Regions from separate parts of the Homo sapiens genome. Here all the other regions are linked to region 3. The links are contacts of gene promoters, found by promoter capture Hi-C in blood cells and fetal thymus (Javierre and others, 2016). All regions are on one chromosome and are shown on one strand. The core of a region is centred on a gene start or on the middle of the fragment in contact, and the rest is flanking DNA. Distances in the headings are between cores, read along the strand shown. Region 1 overlaps MIR3681HG (MIR3681 host gene). Region 2 overlaps MIR3681HG (MIR3681 host gene). Region 3 holds the start of TRIB2 (tribbles pseudokinase 2). Region 4 overlaps MIR3681HG (MIR3681 host gene). Region 5 overlaps MIR3681HG (MIR3681 host gene). Region 6 overlaps MIR3681HG (MIR3681 host gene). Region 7 overlaps MIR3681HG (MIR3681 host gene).

Region 1 (3,033 bases), core at 264-2,763, 320 kb after region 3:
CCCCAAGCTGTTCACCAGAAAGACCAGGAGCAGAGCAGAAGACCAGAAGGGACCCTCTTCAGTTATGCACATGCAGGATGTACTTGACTGCTACGAGAGACCACTCACAAAACACTACCCATTTCCTGGACCCCAGTGCTCTTAGGGGAGGAGCAGTAAAGTACATCATTCCCAAGGTACAAGCGAAAACCAGTTTCAATGTAGGAAGGATAAAAGAAAAAAAAAAAACCCTAGAGGACTTTTTTCTAGGGGAAAAGAGGCAAATCATTTTAAGGGACAGGAGGAAGCTCCAGCTCAAAAGCAACAACAGATACTAGACAAAGTGTTAATGCCATAGAGAGGAGAGACAGGAATGTTAAGAAAGCCTCAAAATCCAAGAAATAAGGATCAGTGTAAAACTGACAGGGCACAAAATAACAGAGTTGTCCCCACAAACCCACCGTGAACCTAGATTGGTTAAGAAGGAGCAGCCAGTATGTTTGGGGCAGGAGCAGGAGCATAGGGTGACCTCCTCCATGGCACAGGCAAGCAAGAATATCAGAGAGCTGAAGGTAGAGCAGGGGCTTCGAGGAAAACTCTGGCACCCCAGTCCCACCTGCCTTAGTCCATTTGTGTGTTGCTATAAAGGAATATCTTAGGCTGGGTGATTTATAAAAAAAGAGGTTTGGCTCACAGTTCTGCAGGCTGTACAAGAAGCATGGCACTAGCATCAGCTTCTGGGGAGGGCTTCTATAGTCAGCATAAATGTTTCCAAAAGTGAAAACAATATAAGAATCTAGATAGTATTTTTCAGACTCACATAACCTTACATTCCCAGTAGTATTACAAGAAAAACAAAAGGAAGTTCTTCTGGCAAAAGTTTATGTTGATAGAAAGAAACATGGATCTATAGAGAGAAATAAGTGCTATAAGGTAAATATTAAAAAATTTCTTTATTTTTAATAATTAAAAAATTTACTGTCTGAAACAAAAATTATAGTTTTTACCTAGTAGTAAATGTAAAACTTATAATAGCAATAGTGCAAAAGATGCAAGGGATGAATCAGAAATATACAGTTGTAAAATTCTTATACTGTTCATGAAACAGTACCATATTATTTGAACATAGGCTGTGACAAGTTAGAGATGTAGATATTGTTAACCATGTGGCAATCACTTAAAAACTCAAAATGAGATATAACTAATAAGCCAATAGTGGAGATAAAATGGAATAATAAAACATTTGAATTCAAAGGTAGGCAGAAAAAGAAGAAAAAAGAAACAGATAATAGACAAGCAAACAGAAACGGTTAGCAGGATGCTAGGTTTTAACACAATGATATAAAAAATTACATTAAATAACAATGGTCTTGTTACATTGAATTCACGCACGCGCACACACACACACACACAAACAACAACAGCAAAGACCTAATTATATGCTGTCTAAAGGAAACATTTTAAGTAGAGAAATACAGATAGATTAAAAGTCAAAGGATAACAAAACGATAGACAAACACTAGTCAAAAGAAACCTGACATGGTCTCTCTTTCTCTCTTTTTCTCTCTCTCTGATCCTCTCTCTCTCACACATGTACATGCACACACATGCACAAGAAGCCTTTGTTTTGCTGATCAAGGTGGTAGATCAAATGCAAATGAGTTCTACAAAAGTAGAAAATCAACTCAGAATGTTAGCTGAAAAGTTGTATGCAGAGCTGACAATGAGAGTCTAGTCAAAGAGAAAGTACATGGAAAAATTGAATAGGACTACAAAAAAAGAAAGAGCAAGCGAGAGACAGGAGGAGAAGGAGAAAGCATATTAGGATGAGGGAGGGTGGCCAGAATGGTTGGTAAGAGCGAAAGTTTAAGGGAGATGGTTGGACAGTTTTGCTGTGTGATGTGGATAATCCCTTCTGTTTACCTACAACACTCTGCTAATATAATTATATGGGTTCTCTTTGTTAGTGGAGTTAAATTTGTGTATGAGTGTCAGAGTAGGGGAGAGGGCTAGATCACATCAGCAGAAGTATATATGTTCATGTGTATTTCAGGAGGACATGCTCAAACTGCCACATGAAAGAGAAAGACGGTTCAGTTTGAGTCACGTTTGCATCTCCAGAGCCAAGCGAGATGCAGGACACAGTGAAAGAACTTTAAAAAGTAATCGAACTAAACTTGCTATGAACAGAATGTTTGTGTTCCTCAAAAATTCATATATGGAAGCCCTAACCCCCTATATGACTGTATTTGAAGATAGGGCTTTTAAGGAGTTAATTAAAGTTAAACGAGGCCACAAGGGTAAGGTCCTTATCCCATAGGATTGTGGCCCTATAAGAAGAGGAAGAGTGAGAGAGACGCTGTTGTCTCTCTCAGCCTTGTGAGGACCTGGTGAATGTTCATCTGCAATCCAGGAAGAGAGCCCCCACCAGAAGCTGCCCATGCTGGCACCCTGATCTCAGACTTTCGGCCTCTAAAACTGTGAAAAATAAATGCCTGTTATTTATAAGCCACCCAGTTTATGGTTTTTGTTACAGCAGCCTGGACTAAGACAAAACTAAACTAAAATGTATATCTTGATCAGGGTTGGTAGATGGACCCCAAGACAATAACCATATCTTACATGCAGATTTTGCTTGAGAATTTTAATTTAAATGTTCTGCATTATAAGTGCCTATATATTTGTAAACATTTGGTACATTTTGCCTTATTGACTTTCATTAAGTTTGTGCTAAGTTATACACCCGACAGATACTATATGAGAATGCTTTTCTTGTCAGATAGAATATTCTCTCCCTGCTCATTTTCTTCCTCTTCCCCCTTCTGCTCCTTCTCCACTTCCTCTCCTCTTCCTGTTCTTCTTCTTCTCTCTCCTACCTTGATAAAATAAATATGCTTTTGTATTGTATAACCTGTTTCTTATGATCATTTTTACCTCATCTTGGTGAGTGTTGTCTTAGAATGCTCAGGTTACTATTTTTAAAACATAAAATCGGTGGCTTAAACAATAGATATTTATTTCTCACAATTCTGGGAGACTGGGAAGTCCAAGATC
Region 2 (3,104 bases), core at 530-3,029, 380 kb after region 3:
GGCTCACAGATGGCCGCCTTCTTGCCACACCCTCATGTGGAATTTCCTGCATAGGCACTTGTCTGTATGCTCTCCTTCTTTTAAATTTCATCTTCATATAAGGACACCAGTTATAGTGGATTAGAGCCCACTGTAAAGATCTTATTTTAACTTAATTACTTCTTTATAGATGTTATCTCCAAATATGATCACATTCTGAGGTTCTAAGGATCAGGAATTCAATGTATAAATTTGGGTAGGGAGAGGAGGACATAATTCCGCCTATAACGATGGCCTAGTAGCCAGAAGCAGAGTCTCTGGAAATAGACTTCTTGGGTTCAGACATTTGCTTTCTTACCTAGAAGCTGTATGACTTTGTATGACTCTCTATTCCTCAGTTTCCTCATTTACAAAACGGTATTAGTAACTACCTCTTAGGTTGTTATCAATGAAAAGACTGTTTGATGTAACAATAAATAACAGCAAAATATTCAGTGGGGAGGGACATAATCAAGGGTCCCTCCGGGAGCATGGTAGGAATAAGTTGGAAGTAGAAAGGCTGGAGGCTTAGAGACAAATAGAACAGACAGACTTTTATAACCTAGTTTATTATATTTGAGAAAGGAGAGGAAGGAGGCTGATACAGGTGAAGACATTGCTGCCAACTGGGATAAAGGAAACCACAGAGAAAGTAAGGGGGGCAGGGGGATTAGTTCAGTTAAAGACATTCTAAGTTTAAAATGCTTGGGATTCACCCAAAAATTGAGTCTAGCAGATAGGCCTGAAGCTTGGACAGAATTTGGGCAGAATAGAGTTGAGGGTCATCACCAAGTAAAAAAATGGCAGCTGTACTCATAAGCTATGAATGAAATTGTCCACAGAAAACCAAGCTTCTATATGACTTTGAGACTGGAACCACAATTAGGAACACAGTCACCACAGAATATAAGACCAGCCCTCATATCCCTGTAAAAGGCTGTTCAATTGATCAGGGCCCCCACTTAAGAACAAGGCCAGGTCTTGATGCAGAGTGATTCACCAGCCTTCAGTTTCCAGGAATGAGTGTTGGAAAAGACAGGAAGGAATACAGGACTCTGAAATTGCATCTCCTTTTCAATACATTCTGTTGTGTTCTCACCGAGTGAAATTTAGAGATCGAAAGTATCATTGATTTAGTTCACAATTGTCTCTTAGGCACAGGAAATAAAGGCGTAATCAAATGTAATGTCCTTCTCAGAAGCCCCCATCACCACCATATATATAACTGTTAATTTGGGCAGATAGTCAGGTCATTGTGAGCCAGTGTTCTCTTCTGAAAAGTTATAATAAAATCACACTAGCCTTGCCCTTCCTCTGTTATCAGAGCGATGATATTTATTATAACAGTAGTTTCTAATTCCCCGAAGTGTCTATCTATAGAATATTTTTGTAGTATTATTATTCTTGTTAAGCACTGACATTATCCACAGCCAGTAGACCCAGTGGACCCTGTCTTTGTCTGTGTCATCACCTTTAAATCAAACTACCACCAGGTTCACTATTTGTTAGTGCCCAAAGCAGCCGTCTAGTGACTGGAAAGTGGCTATGTGCAGAAAAACTATTTCATCACAAACCATGTGAGAAGTCATCTGAGAAAGCTATCCCCTCACCCCAAGCATCCTGTGATGAAGGATAACATTTATTTCATTATTATTCACTCATGGGACAGCAACTGGGCAGGAAGTGGAGCCCAAACTTACAGATAGTTGATTCAGTCTCCAAACCATCGGCCGATGAGGACTAAGGCCCCGCCTCTTTAGCAAGCAGAAATTATCCAAAGGCATCTGGAGAGATGAGAAGCAGCCTGGTTCAGTGAAAAGTTCACCAAGCTGGGAATGAAGACCGTGGTCCCCTATCCCAGGCCCACCACAGATGGATTCCCTGACTAAACATGGACAAGGCATTTTTCTTTTCTAGGCTTCAGGTTTCTCCTCTGCAAAATGAGGTCTTTAAGTTAGGTTCTCCCTTAGGGAAAGGAGCTCCTCCTTAATGATCATCTAACATTTCCTAGTGGTCTACATACATTACCAAAATTTAATATACAATTAGCAAGGTAAGGGTTAGCACCCTATTTTATAGACTGAGATGCTAACACTCAGCTCTAACTTCTCTCTCTTCTTCATCTGTGCTACATTTTTCCACTGCCCCACACTGGACCAGCTCCATGAGTGTCCAACTTTAGATGGGCCCCATGTTTGGTTGAATGCCCTACTCCCAGGTTTTGAAATTCTTAGCAGTTTTAGAAGAAGGGTCTCACTTTTTCATTTTGCTCTGGGCCCCACACATGATGTCGCTGATCCTGCCTTGATTCTATGATCCCTGGCAATTGAGCCTCACAGTAGTAGGTGCTCAAAGGAACAGACAGAGGTGTCTGCCACAGTGCACAGTTCTCATCCCTTGGAACCACCGTGATGTGGGTTAGATGAAGGGGACAGAATGTGAGCTAATTAAAGTGAGTTGAGTACTTCCAGGGAAGGACACAGGGTCAATAGTCACGGACAAAAACTCTCATGATCTACAGAGAACTGAGAACTGGCTCCTTGCCTTCATTTGTTCTGACGTGCTGTTAAAAAAAAAAAATCTCTTTGTTATTAATTCGAGAAGTCAGGAGCTGTGGACGTGTTCAATGTGGAGTGAACACATTGAAAGGCGAACTTCCTTCAAAGCTTTGATTTCTCTGAATCCTCTGGTTAGTGATCACCACAAGATTTGAGTAGTGGATGGGAAAGGAAGACAAAGACTTCATTCAAATGATTACAATAAACCCTGGGATTCTAAATCCCACCAGAGTTCTTCCAGGGTGAATGTCTGATGTGGAGTCTGATACTTCCAGGAGGCACCCCATCTCTCACACCTGTCTCTGTCCAAGCCAATATGTGGCAGTGGAGCCCAGGGCTGTCATTGCTCAGAGAAGGCAAAGCTGGCTGTCTACAGCTGTCCAGGATCTCCAGCAAGCTTCCTGCATCCCAGGCCAAATGAGGAGGATCTGGAAGAGCAGCTCAGGAAATGTACCCAAGAGAATATGGGGGTACCCCGAAAGAAAGGGAAATGGGAGGCCAGAGCCTTGGTTGAAAGATCTGCTGTGT
Region 3 (3,200 bases), core at 224-2,723:
TCCGCGGACCTTATAGACGACAACTCTTCGAAATCCTGGGTTTTGTTCCGCGATCTCCCATATCTCGCTATTGTGATGGGGGTAGACCTGTGTATGTTCATGAGTGTGAGGATCGCACACGACAAACAAAAAAAAACCCGCTGGAGAGATGAGTCGCTGGCGAGTGCGGCTGCAGGCGCCTCGGTGCCACTGATTTTAAAAGGGAGCGAGAGGGGAGGGGACAGAAGAGGGGCTGCGTGGAGAAAGAGTTAGAAGCCCCCAAATGGGCGCCGCCGGATACCTCGTCTGCTCCGAGCCCGGCTCCCGGGGGTCCTCGGTCGGCAGGCAACTCGGGTCTTTTTGTTACCCCAAAGCAGTCGGCGATGTGCAGAATCGCCGCACTTTTAGTTACTCTGTGTGTGTGTCCCCGGCGTGGATCTGGATGAGTACCCGGGCTGCTAAGGTGCGGAGCTGCAGCGCCAGGGCTCCCGACGCGACCCCCAGGCCGGCTTCCGAATCGCAGACGGGGCGGAGGAGCCCGCGGTAGTTTGTGCAGTCTTCGGGGAGCTCACGGCGGCGACTCAGTCCCAACGCGTTAGAAGCCAAACAAAAAGAGAAAGGAAACAAGCACGGGTCTACCGGCTGGCGACGCACGGCAGCCAGAATCCGCGCTGCACCCCCTTTTTTTGGTGGAAAGGGTGGGGGGCGTGTAAGGGGGGGGTGCGGGAGAGGGCAGTTACCTACGTTTTAACTGTAGATGGCGTCTGAGGCTTTTCCAAGATCGCGAGCTCTCCAAAAATTAAACAAACAAACAAAAAAAAGAAAAATTGCAAGGGAGCATTTAACTTGGTGCGGTCAGCGCTGCCAACAAAAGATTGCAAAAGCTGGGCACAGAGTTGCGGCGCGGGCTGGGCGCAGGTACCGCGACAAAGCCCTGGGCTCGGCCCGCCGCGCGGAGGTCAGCACAGGCTCATGCTGTCGCCGCTCGCTCGCGCCCCAGGTCTTCCTCCGAATGCAGCCAGACGTGCAGGAGAGAACGAGGACAGATCGGCGGTCTCCGATTTCGCCGGCACGAGCTTGCGGGGGTCCTGCGGGCGCTGCAAGGGGAGCTGCGTCCCTGGCCCTTCCAACGCGCGGCGTTCCTTTGCCCCTTTCCCGCTGGAGAACTGGATCTCGTCCTGGAATAATTTGCAATCACCCCGTCTCCCCCTACCCCGAGACCAAATTGCCCGGTGGGGTTTGTTTTGGAGAAAATTGACGGCTTGTCTCCTCCTTCTTTGATTTCTTGCTTGCCCCCCCCAGAGAAAAGAGGGGACCGTGTATTTAAAAATTAAAGGGGACGGCCGACGGTGCCCGAGGCCAATCCCCGCGCTCAGCACGCCCGCATCCCCCGGCGAGGCGGTATTAATAGTTACTTACGTGGCCGGGGATCTCGGAGCGAGCGGGGCCGTGAGTGCGCGTGTGCGCGCGCGCGCCTCGCTCGCGCTCGGTCTCCCCATTCAATGTCACCGACACATTTCCACGGAGCCTCCGCCCCCCCCCCGCCGCCCCCGCGACTGGCTCAGCCCAGAGCCGGCCCCGCCCCGCCCCCGCCCGGGCCCCCCTCATTGCGCCGGGCGCCCATCAATCAGCCCCGCCGCTGCCAGTCCTCGGGCGGCTCCCCGCGCCGCTGCCATTGCAGCTCCGTGCCGGGGGCGCCAGCACCGGCCTCGCAGCTCCCTCGCCCGGCCGGGGAGGTAAACAAAGTGAAATATCCTTCCGCGGCCCGGGGCCCCGGGCGCAGCACCCTGGGTGTCGGCTGCGAGCCGGCTGCGAGCCCAGCTGCGGGCGGCTGGGCCGGGGTTACCAGCAGCGACTCCCGAGCCGTTCCCCACACGCTGCTCCCGCAGCGCCCGCTCCAGCTCTTCGTAGCTCGTTCATGTTCCTGGCGCTTTTCCCCAGAAAGCCAGGCACGCTCTGAGCATTGGGCCCCCAGGCTCAGATGTGGCCCTGAATGAGGAGCTCTGTTTTGGAAGAATGCGCTTTCATCGGTATTGCTGCCTGGAGTTTCGAGAATTCGTTTCATGGTATCTCTCCGACATCCTCCTCTCCATTTAAAAGGAAATCCATTGCTTCCTTTTAGTTGGTGTCACCGCTTGCCCCCGATCCCCACATCCTGGGCTTGTATTTCTAGTGTTTTCAGCAGAAGAGGAACTGAAGGCATCTTTTGATTCAGGTCAAATTTAATCACTAATTCTTCCCTTCCCAGTGCATTGCCTGGAGGGCCTTGGAGGCCAAGCTAGACAAAACTTTGCACCCACACCTCCAGGGAGCGCTGTTGGGTCCTATCCAGGGTGCTGGGCGTCCTGAGTCCTCTTCTGTTAGCCAGGTGAAGGCTGCAGTTTCACGCCCCACTCCACCCCCCATTTCGCCACCCCCCCCGAATTATTCGTAACTTCCTTGGGAGATTCCAGTCCGCGGGCTTGGACAGGAACACCGGAAGCAAGGGGCTTGAACTCAGGCAGAGGCTTCAAACGCCAGCCTTGATCTAAGATATCCTGGTGAATGAGAAGCGATCTAGTAGAGGACAAACTTAAAAAAAAAAATCCCAAGGAACTGAGAAAGGGGAGTTGGGACGACTCCTGGAGCCCTCTGAGCTTTTGCATGCGTGTAGTATATTTTCCACTGGAGGAGGGGACTAAATTATTGTCCACTGTAGGACACTTTCAGTAAAAGAAGGGAGCTATTTATAATTATGTCCACTTGGGACAACAGTCACTCTAATGATCAGGAGTCCTGGGAATGTGGCCAGAGATGGAGAGGACATTGACTATAAAGCTTCCACCCAGCAGCACAGAGTTAAAAGGAAGGTTAAGAAGTGGACCCGTGCCTTCCAGCACCTCTCACCATCCTACTCCCCACAAACCTGCCTAGGATTCAGTCCCAGATCCCAGCAGAATAGATCTATTTCCCTAGGCGATCACCAGGACCACTGACCGAGCAGGGTCCCCTAATCCAGTCTTACCCCAGGAAGACACTTGGCCTGTGTTAGGAACAGTCTCGAAGCAACCCCTGCTGTTGAGTCAGAAAGAGAGGTGCCTAGCCTCCTCTATGCAGTGGCCAAGAGAGCTTTGTAATAATTAGGGGTTGGGACACCTGTGTGCTAGCCCTGGCTGGGTCTCTGATTTCAAATGGAAATTGGGTGAAGACCTTGTTTTTTCTCCCTAGATCCCTGTTTCTTC
Region 4 (3,237 bases), core at 341-2,840, 480 kb after region 3:
CATTCATTTTCATTCTCACTCCCCTTTTTAGCTGCTATTAAACTCCCAAAATGGAGATTTCTGTGTCAAAGTATTTTTGTATTTTTAATTTTAGTACATAGTCTTTTTTTAAAGGAGATACGGCAATTTCCATTCTCACCAGTATAAAAGTGCCCAGCCCTATTCATCCTTTTTATATTTTTGTCAGTCTGAGGGTTAAAAATAGCACATTTTTTCTTTAATTTATATTTATCTGACTAGTAGGGAGAATGAATGAAATGTTATATGTATGCTGGTCATTCTCATTTTCTCTCCTATAAATTGTGAAGTACTTTGTCCATCTTCCTATTTGTCTCTTTTTCATCAATCTCCAGGAGCTCTGTGTAACAGAAAAACAACATTTTTTTCCGTCATCTGTGTGGCAGATATTGTCCCTACCCTTTGTTGTTTGATGTTTTGTAGTTTTTCATAAAACTTATACATATTCTTGTTCCTTTTTAAAATATAGAATTTTTCCTCTAATTTTAAAAAGCATCTGAATGAATATAAACTTGGGGATGCTCCACAAGAATTCAAAGGCATCATCTCCAAAGATACCCAAGATATCAATGGATCTCACTCACAGGAACAATAAGGAGTTTATATCATCATCTTGTGCGACAGTGGAATCAGCCAAGTCTTCTGGGCCACTGACTTCTGTAATGTGGAGAGGACTGAGGAGTCAGGCTGGCCTGCAGAGCACTCATTTAAAAGTTGAATAACTCACATCTGAAGTTATAATCACCCAATCTGGTCGTTCCACTAATGGTATCCTCTTGTGTACCAAAGGCAAAGGTGACAAACGGAATGAACGTGCCCTTGTCTTTAAATCTCACCTTACAAACAACAATAGTGAATTATTTTATGGTATGCTATAGGAAAACAATCTCTGAAAAATGGCATACATTTGTATTGCATTTTTAAATTGCTTTCACAAAAGATTCATTAATCAGTCTTCCAGAAATAACAGTGTATTTCATCATCTGCAATCCTCAGATTTAGAAACAGATTCACAGATGTGAGAAGTGACATACTACAAATAAAACAAATAAGTGCTTAAGTTGGACTAGGACCCGGCCACAGGCTGCCTTCCAGACACTAAAATTTCTACCTCGAAATTCTATGGATTAAAAGAAAAGGAATAATTAAATATCTACACTAAACTCTAAATATTTTGAAAATGCACAATTCTAAAAGCAGTACCTAGTGGGGGCTTAGAGTTGGAATACTTCTTCCCGTTGTTTCTTCTTTCTATGTAGATTCCCCTTCTGAACTTAAAACTCACGTCACCACAGTTCTTCTCGGTGTTTGATTGCAGATGCCAAAGGTGTCATCAGATCTGGTTAACAGATGCTTTGACTTTAACTTTCAGTGGGATTGGCATCAAAATAAATGTGGTAACCTTTCTCCTAAGGTTTTGTGTTTCACCTAGTGTTCTTCTTCCCCTTGTCTGAAAAATATTTATTGACGACAGAGCCCTAGTCTCTGAAGATAATAAAAAGTTATCTAGGGAAAGAAGAAAACAAAGTAAAATACTCTGGTTTATTGTTGAACTGTTGGTTCAAGTTTTGTTTCAACAAAGACCATGGAGGATGAAGCAGGAAGTCGAGGAAAGTTCGCTCTTGGGTATGAGCAGATGCGGGACATGTGGAGCCCTGTCTTGGCCACTGACTGATGGGGCACACACCTTGATTGCTGATGAATGTGGCAGAGGTGACGACACCATTGCTACTCTTTATTGATTTGTTGCTATGTTCTAAGATTTATGCATTATGTGGATTATCTCAATTAAATATTTACATAACCTGGGCCTGGCATGGTGGCTCACACCTGTAATCCCAGCATTTTGGGAGGCTGAGGTGGGCAGATCAGGAGTTTGAGGTCAGGAGTTTGAGACCAGCCTGGACAACCTGGTGAAATCCCATCTCTACTAACAATACAAAAATTAGCCGGTCATGGTGGCTCCTGCCTGTAGTCCCAGCTACTTGGGAGGCTGAGACAGGAGAATTGTTTGAACCCAGGACACAGAAGTTGCAGTGAGCCGAGATCGTACCATTGCACTCCACCCTGGGCAACAGAGTGAGACTCCATCTTAAAAAAAAAAAAAAAAAAAAAAATTACATAACCCTAAGAGGCTTCATGGGCCCATTTACAGAGTCACTGTGAGGATAAAGAACAGCAAAGCACAAAGTGACCTCATCGGGCCATCTGTGCTAGGTTAGGCCTTTGCACATAATTAAACTTCGATAAATATTGTAGTGGTATGAATGCTGGGGCAGAATAAAAAGGGTACTAATTGAAGAGTCCATTAGAGCAAAATGCAAAGTAATTTGGAATCTACAATGGAAATGTGATCTTTGCCTAACCACAGTTAAAACTTGGTAGTGGTAGCTGAAGATGATTTTTTAAACAACAACAAAAAAATGAATTTGAGGTAAGAAACTCATTATACAAGATACAATCATTTTGGAAAGAAAAGTATTATTTAACACATCTCCCCACGTGATATGGTTCCAGATTGTAAGATGACTTTTCTGTGTTGGAGTTCACTCAAAACCCATCTTGGGTACAATGTGTGTACAGATCTAATTCTAAAAATATCTCTTTGTATTTTGAAACTTATAACTAGTCTACTAAGTGGGGTAAGCAGGAGTGGGGAGAGTTTCAAGTTTCTCATTCTCTTGTTGCTTCTAGGAGAATTGCTACAATGCCCATCATTTTTATCTCTATTATGCCAAACAGATAATATTTTTGAAAGGCTCCAGGAAATTACTTGAGCGTAGGATTATTCAGGGATCACAATCAATGAACTTTTTTTTTCCACATTTGTTACAAGACTAGACAGTTTCATTTCTGAACAAATATTCTGACACCCTTGAAGATGCTTTCTGACTGATGTGCCCCACATAAGATCCTGAATCTACTGCCAGATGAAGGAAAGCTCCATTGGAACAAAAGGGCTGTCATTACACAGCCAAATGGCTTTTTATGAAGCCAACCTATATGCAGGTTTCAGGGGGAGTCTGTGAGTTTCTTTTTCTTGCAGGATTGTCTTTGTATATTTCACAGTGATTTCAGTAGAAATGCAAATCTAGGATGTGGCATGGAGGTACCACTCAATTAAGACAAAGTTCTCCTGTCTCTCAGATGGCTTTATTTTGAAGAAAGTATAGAACAAGCTGTCCAACCCATGGCCTGTGGGCCACATGCGTCCGGGAC
Region 5 (2,954 bases), core at 28-2,527, 510 kb after region 3:
TGACCTCCTCCAGGTTCCTAAGGATGTTAATTTAGAACAAAGAATGTTAGAGTTCAGTCTCCAGTTCCCCCTTATCTGAGGTCTATGAGGCAGCAGATTTGTTTGCCGGGGGGCGGGGTGGGTCCCAGTTTCTGAAAAAAAACTCAGGGACATTCGCTAATGTTAGCAGTGGAGCGTATCCCAGTCACGTGGCACCAAAGAATGTTAGTGGCGGCGAATCCTACGGGTCTGCAGCAACCTCAGTTCTTGCCTCCTAAGAAGAAAGCATTTAACCGAGGAACATAAGGCAGAGGGAGACTAAGGCAAGATTTAGAGCAGGAGTGAAAGTTTATTAAAAAGCCTTAGAGCTGGAACAGAAAGAAGGAAAGTGTACTTGGAAGAGGCCCAGGCGGGTGACTTGAGAGATCAAGTGCAGGGTTTGACCTTTGACTTGCATAGGGTTTTATATGTTGGCTTGCTGGGGACTTGCGTCCCTTCTCCCCTGATTCTTCCCTTGAAGCGGGCTGCCCGCATGTACAGTGGCCTGCCAGCACTTGGGAGGGGCCGCATGTGCAGTGTTTACTGGAGCTGTACACATGCTCATTTGAGGCATTCTCCCCTTACCAATGTCCCTAGAAGGCGGTCTTCCCTTACAATGTCCCTAGAAGGTCATATATCAGTTAAATGCTGCCATTTTGCCTCTTAGTGCTCATGCTCAAGCCCACTTACCCACCTCCTGAGATCTTATCAGAAAGCTGATCACCAGCTTCAGGTTTTTCTGTCTGTTGAGAGACTGCCTTTCCTTGGTGCTGGCTGCAACCAATTATTATTTTAGAGGGAGAGCTTAACAACTTCCTGACCATCACCTAATGTTTGCTGGACGTTCCTGGTGGGAGTCGGGGGAGCTCTCTCCCAACCTCTCATGTCCGACCAGCTACTTACTGTGACATTTAGAGGTTATCTTTAGTTTCCACAGGGGAATCAAATATCTCTGACTATAACTTCCTTGCTTATTGTTTTAAGCTTCTATTACCTTCTTGCTTATCAAGATATTTGTAGGGAAAACTCTAACTTTTTCCTCCATCTCATACCACCAGAACAACCATCATCAACACAGAAGACTTCTGTGACCAAATGTGTGGGAGTTTTCCCCACTCACCAAGCTGCAGACACCAACTGGGTGTCCTCCAATTCAGTTCCCATACTCTACCTGGAGATAGTGTCAGATCCCACAGGTTGGGCTCTCAGTCCCCAAGACTAACCCCTGACACACAAACCAGTTGCAAGTGCCGGCCTCCAGAACTTGCTTCTGATCAACTGGCTTCAAGTTAAGGTTCCCAGGACCCCCTCTTTGGATTCAATTGATTTGCTAGAGTGCCTCACAGAACTCAGGGCAACACACTATAAAGCATATTACAAAGGAGACAGATGAAGAAATGCGTAGGGCGAGGTATAGGAAACAGGGTATGGAGCTTCCATGCCCTCCCCGGGTGCTGCCCTCCAGGGACTTCCAGGTGTTCAGCTGTCCTGAAGCTCTCTGAACCCAATGCTCTTGGGTTTTTATGGAAGCTTTGTCACATCGGCATTCCTTCCTCCAGAATATAGGGCAGGACCTTCTCTGCAGAGGGTCTTAATACCCACAATTAGAAAGGTAGAGGATGATTAGAGTCCTGCCTTGGTACAGGTGAAAGGAATGCAGGAGAAAGCCAGAGAGATTCTGTTTCCTAAGGCCTAACACCCACCATTATAATAAAAGACTGTAACAACAGCAATGGGAGTTATGAGCCAGGAACCGTGGACGAAAACCAACATATATCATAACACCACAAGTTACTTATTTGCTTCTCAAGACTAGCTAGGTTTCTGAAATTACCCTTGAAGGAACTTAAGAATTTCCTTAATTTTTATGCTTGGGGCAGGGGGAGAGGGGTGCACAGGCTCCTAAGAGGGGGTTCTTGCTCCGTCTCCTAGGTTCTTCCTTTCCACATTCACAGCTACTTCTGGAATCAGAGGTCAATGGGACTTGGATCTGAAGAACTATAAAGCCTGAGGCAGATTCCCCAGCTGATGTCTGGTCTGCATATTAGATCATCTTCCTATGGCAACATTTTCACTGTCTCCTTTCCTCTCTAGAAATGTGCTGGCTCTACTTTGCCTCAGGTACTCAACTAGGTTTTCTAGGCTAGGTTCAGTACATTCTCTTCCTACTCAACTCCAGACCTCAACTCATGGTCACAAACCTGGGAGACTAACCAACATAACCTTGAACAAATACTTAACGTCTCTGAGCTCAAGTTCTTACCCCCATAAAGTAAGGATGCTAAATATGATGACCTCATATTCTTGCTGAATCATTAGGATTCATAATAGAAATCAGCAGCTAAGCTAAGACATAGATCCAATTGACAATCTGATCACTAGTGGTGCATCTGAATATATTGTTCTGGATGTTTTTACTTTTTTGAAAGTGGAAAAATTTAAATACATATGCAAGTAGAGAGAATGGATTAATTAATGGACTAACTCCACCACTTCCATTTTTTCTTCGATTATTTGAAAGTAAATACCAAGCCATATCACCAGTGTCATATCACCTATAATAATTAAATATGTATAATTAAGAGACAAGATATTTTAAAAACATAACTACAATACTGTCATCACACCTAAAAATATTTACTTAATATTATCAATTATCCAATCTTGCTTAACTCTCAGGGTATTTTTATTGTTACATTGAATGGAAATCTGCTTTGACAATAATGTGCCACCCACACTGAAACTAAATCTATGCCACACCAGAAAACTCAGTTAATTCATCCACTTAATAGTGTAAATATCAATGTTTTAGAGTCTGTAGTCTTTCAACGTCCCACTGCTAAAAAAGCAAAGGCCCCAGAGTTTCAAAGAAGCTCTATGACTCCCGGAATAACCCATTAAAAGGGTTCCATGGCTACTTTTTGTTTGGTTTGTTG
Region 6 (3,347 bases), core at 162-2,661, 460 kb after region 3:
CTCCTTTGAGTCTAGAGGTGACTCAAGGGCTGGGTGTGGTGGCTCATACCTGTAATCCTAGTACTTCGGGAGGCTTAGGTTGGTGGATCACTTGAGCCTAGGAGTTCAATACCAGCCTGGACAACAGAGCAAGACCCTGACTCCCAAAAGTATATATATATAATTATAATTAATTAATATTATTATATTATTAAATAGTATTATAATTAATATATATTTATATTAATATATATTTATATGTACATATATGTATGTGTGTATATATACATACATATATATGTATATATATACACACATAGAGAGAGAGAGAAGTAGCTCACGATCTGGAGATCTATGAACTCCAGATCATGAGTTTGGGCATCTCTTCCCCAAACATACATATAATAGAAAAGAGTGTAGCAGATCCAGTAGAAGAACGATGAAATTCCCACCGAGAACGGGAAGAACAGGAAACACAAGGCATTCACTTGTCCTTCTTCATGATGCACTCCTGCTGGAGAAGTGATTCTTGATCTGGACATGGAGGAAGTTATTTGGGATTAGACCCTGGATATGCCTTCTGGGAGGAACTGCTTTGTCTGTTTCATCCATGACCTGGTTCTGGCTTGTGGGATGTGGATCCTCGTTCATTATCTTCCATGGTCACATGGGTGTTGGAGGCGGAGGAGCTTTTGCAGTACAATTCTGATTTTGTGAACGTTAGGATTTAAGAGTTGTTTTATAATAACTGGCATTTTTTTAAAAATCCAGGAAAATTGTTTCTTTAGCAATATAATTTCCTCAAAAAGTTCTTGTTATGGGTTGAATTGTGTCACTCAAAATTGATTATGTAGAAGTTCTAACCACCGGTACCTTGGAATACGACCTTATTTGGAGACAGGGTCTTTAAAAAGCTAAACTGAGGTCATTAGGGTGAGCTGCAATCCAATATGACTGGTGTCCTTATAAAAACAGGAAATTTGGGAGCTATGCATGGTGGTGCATGCCTGTAGTCCCAGCTACTCTGAAGGCTGAGGTGGGAAAGTCACTTCAGCCCAGAAGTTTGAGGCTGCAGTAAGCCATGATCAGTGGTAGTACAAGTGGTAACTGTACTACTCCAGCCCAGGCAACAGAGAACCTTGACTCTAAAATAAATTAATTAATTAATTAAATTTACAAAGGGGTAAATTGGAGACAAACTTGTATCCAGGGAAAATACCTTGTGAAGATCAAGATGGCCATCTGCAGACAAAGAGGGGAGGCCTGCCTCAGATGCGTCTTCACAGCCCTCAGAAGGAGCCAACTCTGCTGACACCTTGACTTTGCACTATTAGTCTCCAGGAATATGAGACAATAAATTTCTGTTGCTTAAGCATCCCAGTTTGTAGTAGTTTGTTACAGCAGCTCTATCAAATTAATACAGTTCCTTTAAAAGTTTCTGATCTATTTTCTACTGGTCAGTCCTATGTACAAGACTTAAAGTTCATTTCCATACATAATAACAAAGTTTGCTTTATCTCTCTGCTTTCTAAGCCCCATGCCTGTATCTGTTGACATAATGTTTGATATCATGCAGCCATCTGAAACATTAGGCTTGAGTGGAAAGGTTTTACCCTTAATCAGATCTTTGTCATAGGGCTGATTCTCTTTGTTTAGCCAAATAGACATAATAGGTCCTTTTATTGTTGACATCCTTTTCTAGAATTATCTCTTCCCATTTAGGATCTAGATGCCATCTGCTTTCTAACTTGGCAAAATCTCAAATTTCTGAACTCTTCCTATTTTCTTATGCTTTTTCTTTCAAACCAGTCAGTCCTTTCTTGAGCTTATCTCTTTCTTGTAATACTTTACTGCAAAGTAAAGGCCAAAACTCACTAACACAATAGTTCTTACCGTTTTCCCTGGAGATTTGGGCTCAGTAGGAATGTCATCTGTTTCTAGGCAATAGTTTGATCACATCAATAGATTACTGTTCTAGGCTACAATATCTTTTATTATTGGTTCTGCCTAACTGCTAAGTCAATACCACCTATTTTAGGTATTTATTAAGTCAGCATTTTTATTTCTAGTAGCAATTTTTGTATTAGTTATGGTATTAGTAGCAGCTGTGACAAATGAACTCCCAAAGTTAGGTGCCATAATATAACAAAAATTTATTTCTTTTTCACATGAAAGATATTTAAGTGGTTTGTTTTGTTTTGTTTTGTTTTTTTATATGGTGACTCAGAGACCTGGGTTTCTTTCATACTAAGACCCCACTAATCCCTGAGGACTCAGCACTCCCGGCAATCAGCTGGTCAAAAGAAGAACATGGAGTATGGAGAAGAAACAATCTCTTCTTGAAAGCCTTGCCCTGAATGGCGTAAATCACTACTGCTCCCACTCTACTGTAAAAGTCAACCACAAGCCTGCTCCTAATTGCAAAAGGGGCTGGTATATTGAGTCTAGTGGTGTATCAGTTCATTTTCATGCTACTGATAAAGACATAACTGAGTCTGGGCAATTTACAAAAGAAAGAGGTTTAATTGGACTTACAGTTCCACATGGCTGGGGAGGCCTCACAATCATGGCGGAAGGCAAGGAAGAGCAAGTCCCATCTTTTGTGGATGGCAGCAGGCAAAGAGAGAGCATGAGCAGGGCAACTCCTGTTTTTAGAACTGTCAGATCTCGTGAGCCCATTCACTGTCACGAGAACAGCACAGGAAAGACCCACCCCCATAATTCAATCATCTCCCACTGCGTCCTTCTCACAATGTGTGGGAATTATGGGAGTTATGAGATGAGATTAGGGTGGAGACACAGAGCCAAACCGTATCAAGTGGCGTACCCAGGAAGAAGGGTATGCATACACTTTAGTGAGCAGATGATGTCTTTGTCATTAGAGACATTTTGCCAGTCTTATAGATGAGAAAATTAAGGTTCAGAGAAATAATGTAACTTGTCAAAGATCACATAGCTTATAAATAATAAAATTGGACTTGACCATGTATGTCTGAGTTTTATATGAGAAAAAAAACAAACAAGAGACTAGCAGAATGATTAATATTCTAAAAGCTACAAATTTACCAAATTTAGAAAATAAAAATAAAAGCACTAAATTGAATTTGAAGTTTAGATAAACAACAACAGAAATTTTAGTGTAAGTATGTCTCATGCAATACATTATCTTGAAAGCTTGCCTAAAAAGAATGTTTTAAGAATTACAGGGAGGCCAGGTGCAGTGGCTCATGCCTGTAATCCTAGCATTTTGGGAGGCCAAGATGGGTGTATCAAAAGGTCAGGAGATCGAGACCATCCTGGCCAACATGGTGAAACCCCATCTCTACTAAAAAAAAATTTAAAAAAAAATACAAAAATTAGCTGGGCCT
Region 7 (3,042 bases), core at 277-2,776, 340 kb after region 3:
ACCTCAGTGTATGCCACCATGCCTGGCCAATATTTTTATTATTATTATTTGTAAAGACACAGTCTCGCTATGTTGCGCAGGCAGATCTCAAACTCCTGGGCTCAAGTCATGCTCCTGCTTAAGCCTCCCAAACTGCTGGGATTAGAGGCATGAGCCACTGTGCCCAGTCAATACCCTACTTTTAAAGAAGCAAACATCTTTAGACTAAAAATAGTTATGGAGTTATAGAAAACTCAGTAAAAACAGAAATAAAAACCTAACTCTATTTTAGTAAAAGTCTAACTCTATTTTAATTTTTGACATAACCAGTCAGAGAAACTAAATAATCCAAGACAATTTTGAATGCAGTACTCCAAATATACACTTTTAGTATGATATTGCTTAAGGACAAAAAGAACCACCAGAACCTTTATTTAGTAAGTTTCTTGTTAGTATTAATATTGATATTAAAAATGTGAAAGTGTTTACTTCTACTACAGACAAGCAAATAAGTAAGTGCCTTGATATCATTAGAACCCAATATTTTCCTTGTAAGAAAAATAAAATAAAAATATCAAATAAACTAAACTAAGGAAATCCTGCCAGGTAAAATTTGAATTAGAAATGTCAGGATGATCTCATGGTTTAAATATGCAAATATTTTCTTGCTTTTCTACTGAAAGGGCCTAGAGTCAATGATGACACAGAAGCAGTGAACACACATGGCTCTCAGATCTTAATTCCCAAATGCTAGGGAGTCGGGCCTCTCTAAGAAATGGCCGATTCCAGATCTGAGACGTGGAAATGCTCAATAAATCTGCAACATCATGTGGCAAAAAGCAAAAAAGTGTTGAAAGCCTAGGTGACCATGAATAAGGGATACAGCAGGGTGTTATGTGTATTTCAAAATATTATGAAGAATGCCTCCTCTTGTTTGGTTGTAATCATGGATATATCACCCCAAATGAAATAGCTATTCCAATAAGCATGGCCACCTCACCTAGGAAGATATAAACATGGTGAGCATGAGAACATTAGAGAATAATAGTGTAACTCTCAATAATTTAACTCAAATGATGTCACTCAGTGATGTAACTTTGAACTAATAGAAAATGAGATGTACCGGAACTCCTGGGTCCTGCACTAACATAAGACTGCTCAGAACTGCTATACTCCCTGCCAGCCTGCTACATCCCCCCAGCCAGTGTCATTGAACAACCTTGTACTCTCTTTCTTGTGACATTCCTGGAAACATTAGAATATTCACAGGCAGAGGACAACTCATGATGGGCAAGGCAGACAGAACAGTACTGAACAATTAGGGATTCGGGTCATAGTTCCCTTTCCCACCTTTTAATTTTGCTTAGCCCCTTAGCTTTTTAAGGAGATAATGCTTGGATTTGTAAATGCTGAAAAAGTGTTATTTGTATGATTTCTTTCTTCTGCTTTTGCACTCTGTAGCTCAAAGAACTACATTTTCACTGTGAGTTGAGTGACTTGAAATTGAAACTAAAATCAGAAGTTTGAGTGAAACACAGGAGCCATCTTTACAAAGCTCTTATTGTCTAAATCTGTCATAATTTGACACAAATAGACTAATTTTGGAAATGGATTATAACATGTTGAATTAAAAAAAACTATGTGTCCTTATTGTTATGTAGAAAACAGGGATAAAGAGGAGAAAAATGGAAAGAAAGTCAGCTCATAAGTTCTATTAGAGTTCACTAGAGAAACAGAACCAGCAGGAAATATATACATATATAATATTTATAAAAATATATATTATACATATGCTATATTATATATTTATAAATATATTACATATTACATGTTTATAAATGTATTATATCATATATAATATATTTATATATCATATATTCAGGTTTATAAATATATATTATATATTTATAAATATTTATATTTTATATATGTATATTATATAGTACGTATATTATATATTATATACTATATAATATATGTATATAATATATTATGAATCATACATATATTATATATCATACATATATTATATATCATACATATATAATATATATTTATAAATATATATTTTCTACTTCATATATATAGACACACAATATATGTGATATATGAAGAGGTTTTTATAAGTTATTTGCTCATGATATTATGGAGGCTGATTTGCCCTCTGGAAGCTGGAGACCCAAGAAAGCCAATGGTGTAGTTCACATGCCCAAGATTCAGAAAGCTGATATTATAGATTCCAGTTCCAGTTTGGGTCTAGAAACCTGAGAACCAAGAGCACTGGGGGCAGGAGAGGGTTAATGTCCCAACTCATGTAGTCAGATGGAGTGGATTTAACCTGCCTCTTCCTTTCCTTTTTGCTCTATTCAGGCCCTCAGTGGGTTGGGTGATGCCCACTCACATTGGGAGGAGGTCTGCTTCATTTGGTCCACTGGTCCCAATGCTCATCTCCTGAAACACCTTCACAGATGCACCCAGATACAATGTTCAATCAGCTATCTGGGCATTCCACGGCCAAGTCAAAGTTGACACATAAAATTAGCCATCACATAAATGTAGAATAATGCTTAGGAAAAAATCACTATTTTGCAACCCCTAAGATAATAATTAATTCAGGCAAGTATCATTGAGAGATACTAAAGTCACTCATAAAAAGTTGCTCGGAAATACAATAATCACATGATCTTGAAGTTTCATCTCATGTATTAATTAGTAATTATAAAAGGGAAAATGTATTTCTAAAATGAAGGTGCCAGGCTATCACCACTTAAGTGATCAAACCTAGTATTACCAATAAATATTACCAATAATGGGACGAATTGACAATATCTGCCTCTGATGTTAAAATAAAATTATATAACATTATCTTTGTAGTATCATTTCCAATTCTGCACATAGAAAATACTTTTTAAATATCCATAATGAGGAACATTCTGTAAAAAAAAAAAAAAAAATGACCGAGACTCTAACATTTTTAATACCACTTAAAATATTTCGATGATTCAAAAAACTTAACAGTCAATGCAATGTACAGAATTTGGTTGGATCCTGAATCAAGGGGAC

Evidence for each region. The method cuts DNA at HindIII sites, captures the fragments that hold promoters and counts their contacts. A CHiCAGO score of 5 or more calls a contact.
Region 1: a contact is called between a fragment that was not itself captured here and the fragment with the promoter of TRIB2 in region 3, in 1 of 17 cell types (neutrophils). The highest score is 5.8, in neutrophils.
Region 2: a fragment that was not itself captured here is called in contact with the fragment with the promoter of TRIB2 in region 3 in 1 of 17 cell types (neutrophils); the score reaches 5.2 in neutrophils.
Region 4: a contact is called between a fragment that was not itself captured here and the fragment with the promoter of TRIB2 in region 3, in 1 of 17 cell types (neutrophils). The highest score is 5.1, in neutrophils.
Region 5: a contact is called between a fragment that was not itself captured here and the fragment with the promoter of TRIB2 in region 3, in 2 of 17 cell types (M0 macrophages and M1 macrophages). The highest score is 5.6, in M0 macrophages.
Region 6: a fragment that was not itself captured here is called in contact with the fragment with the promoter of TRIB2 in region 3 in 1 of 17 cell types (neutrophils); the score reaches 5.9 in neutrophils.
Region 7: a contact is called between a fragment that was not itself captured here and the fragment with the promoter of TRIB2 in region 3, in 1 of 17 cell types (neutrophils). The highest score is 5.1, in neutrophils.

Annotation. Positions count from the first base shown.
Region 1 is chr2:12,393,630-12,396,662 of GRCh38, reverse strand. All of the region lies in intron 4 of MIR3681HG (MIR3681 host gene), which reads right to left. Among named protein-coding and RNA genes, the nearest start is that of MIR3681, 200 kb to the right of the region's middle. The HindIII fragment of the contact is 4,254 bases long and covers 1-3,033 here.
Region 2 is chr2:12,338,916-12,342,019 of GRCh38, reverse strand. All of the region lies in intron 4 of MIR3681HG (MIR3681 host gene), which reads right to left. Among named protein-coding and RNA genes, the nearest start is that of MIR3681, 140 kb to the right of the region's middle. The HindIII fragment of the contact is 1,815 bases long and covers 872-2,686 here.
Region 3 is chr2:12,715,209-12,718,408 of GRCh38, reverse strand. TRIB2 (tribbles pseudokinase 2) reads right to left here and starts at 1,473. Exons shown (of 3, transcript NM_021643.4): 1 at 1-1,473. The coding sequence starts at 101. LOC124905974 (a long non-coding RNA gene) reads left to right here and starts at 1,651. Exons shown (of 2, transcript XR_007086222.1): 1 at 1,651-3,200. RefSeq lists enhancers at 1,006-1,075, 924-1,563 and silencers at 1,516-1,575, 1,666-1,885. The HindIII fragment of the contact is 5,863 bases long and covers 1-2,798 here.
Region 4 is chr2:12,230,865-12,234,101 of GRCh38, reverse strand. All of the region lies in intron 3 of MIR3681HG (MIR3681 host gene), which reads right to left. Among named protein-coding and RNA genes, the nearest start is that of MIR3681, 33 kb to the right of the region's middle. The HindIII fragment of the contact is 6,789 bases long and covers 1-3,237 here.
Region 5 is chr2:12,207,931-12,210,884 of GRCh38, reverse strand. The region is part of intron 3 of MIR3681HG (MIR3681 host gene); the gene reads right to left. Among named protein-coding and RNA genes, the nearest start is that of MIR3681, 10 kb to the right of the region's middle. The HindIII fragment of the contact is 546 bases long and covers 1,005-1,550 here.
Region 6 is chr2:12,250,222-12,253,568 of GRCh38, reverse strand. All of the region lies in intron 3 of MIR3681HG (MIR3681 host gene), which reads right to left. Among named protein-coding and RNA genes, the nearest start is that of MIR3681, 53 kb to the right of the region's middle. The HindIII fragment of the contact is 3,488 bases long and covers 1-3,155 here.
Region 7 is chr2:12,374,665-12,377,706 of GRCh38, reverse strand. All of the region lies in intron 4 of MIR3681HG (MIR3681 host gene), which reads right to left. Among named protein-coding and RNA genes, the nearest start is that of MIR3681, 180 kb to the right of the region's middle. The HindIII fragment of the contact is 7,160 bases long and covers 1-3,042 here.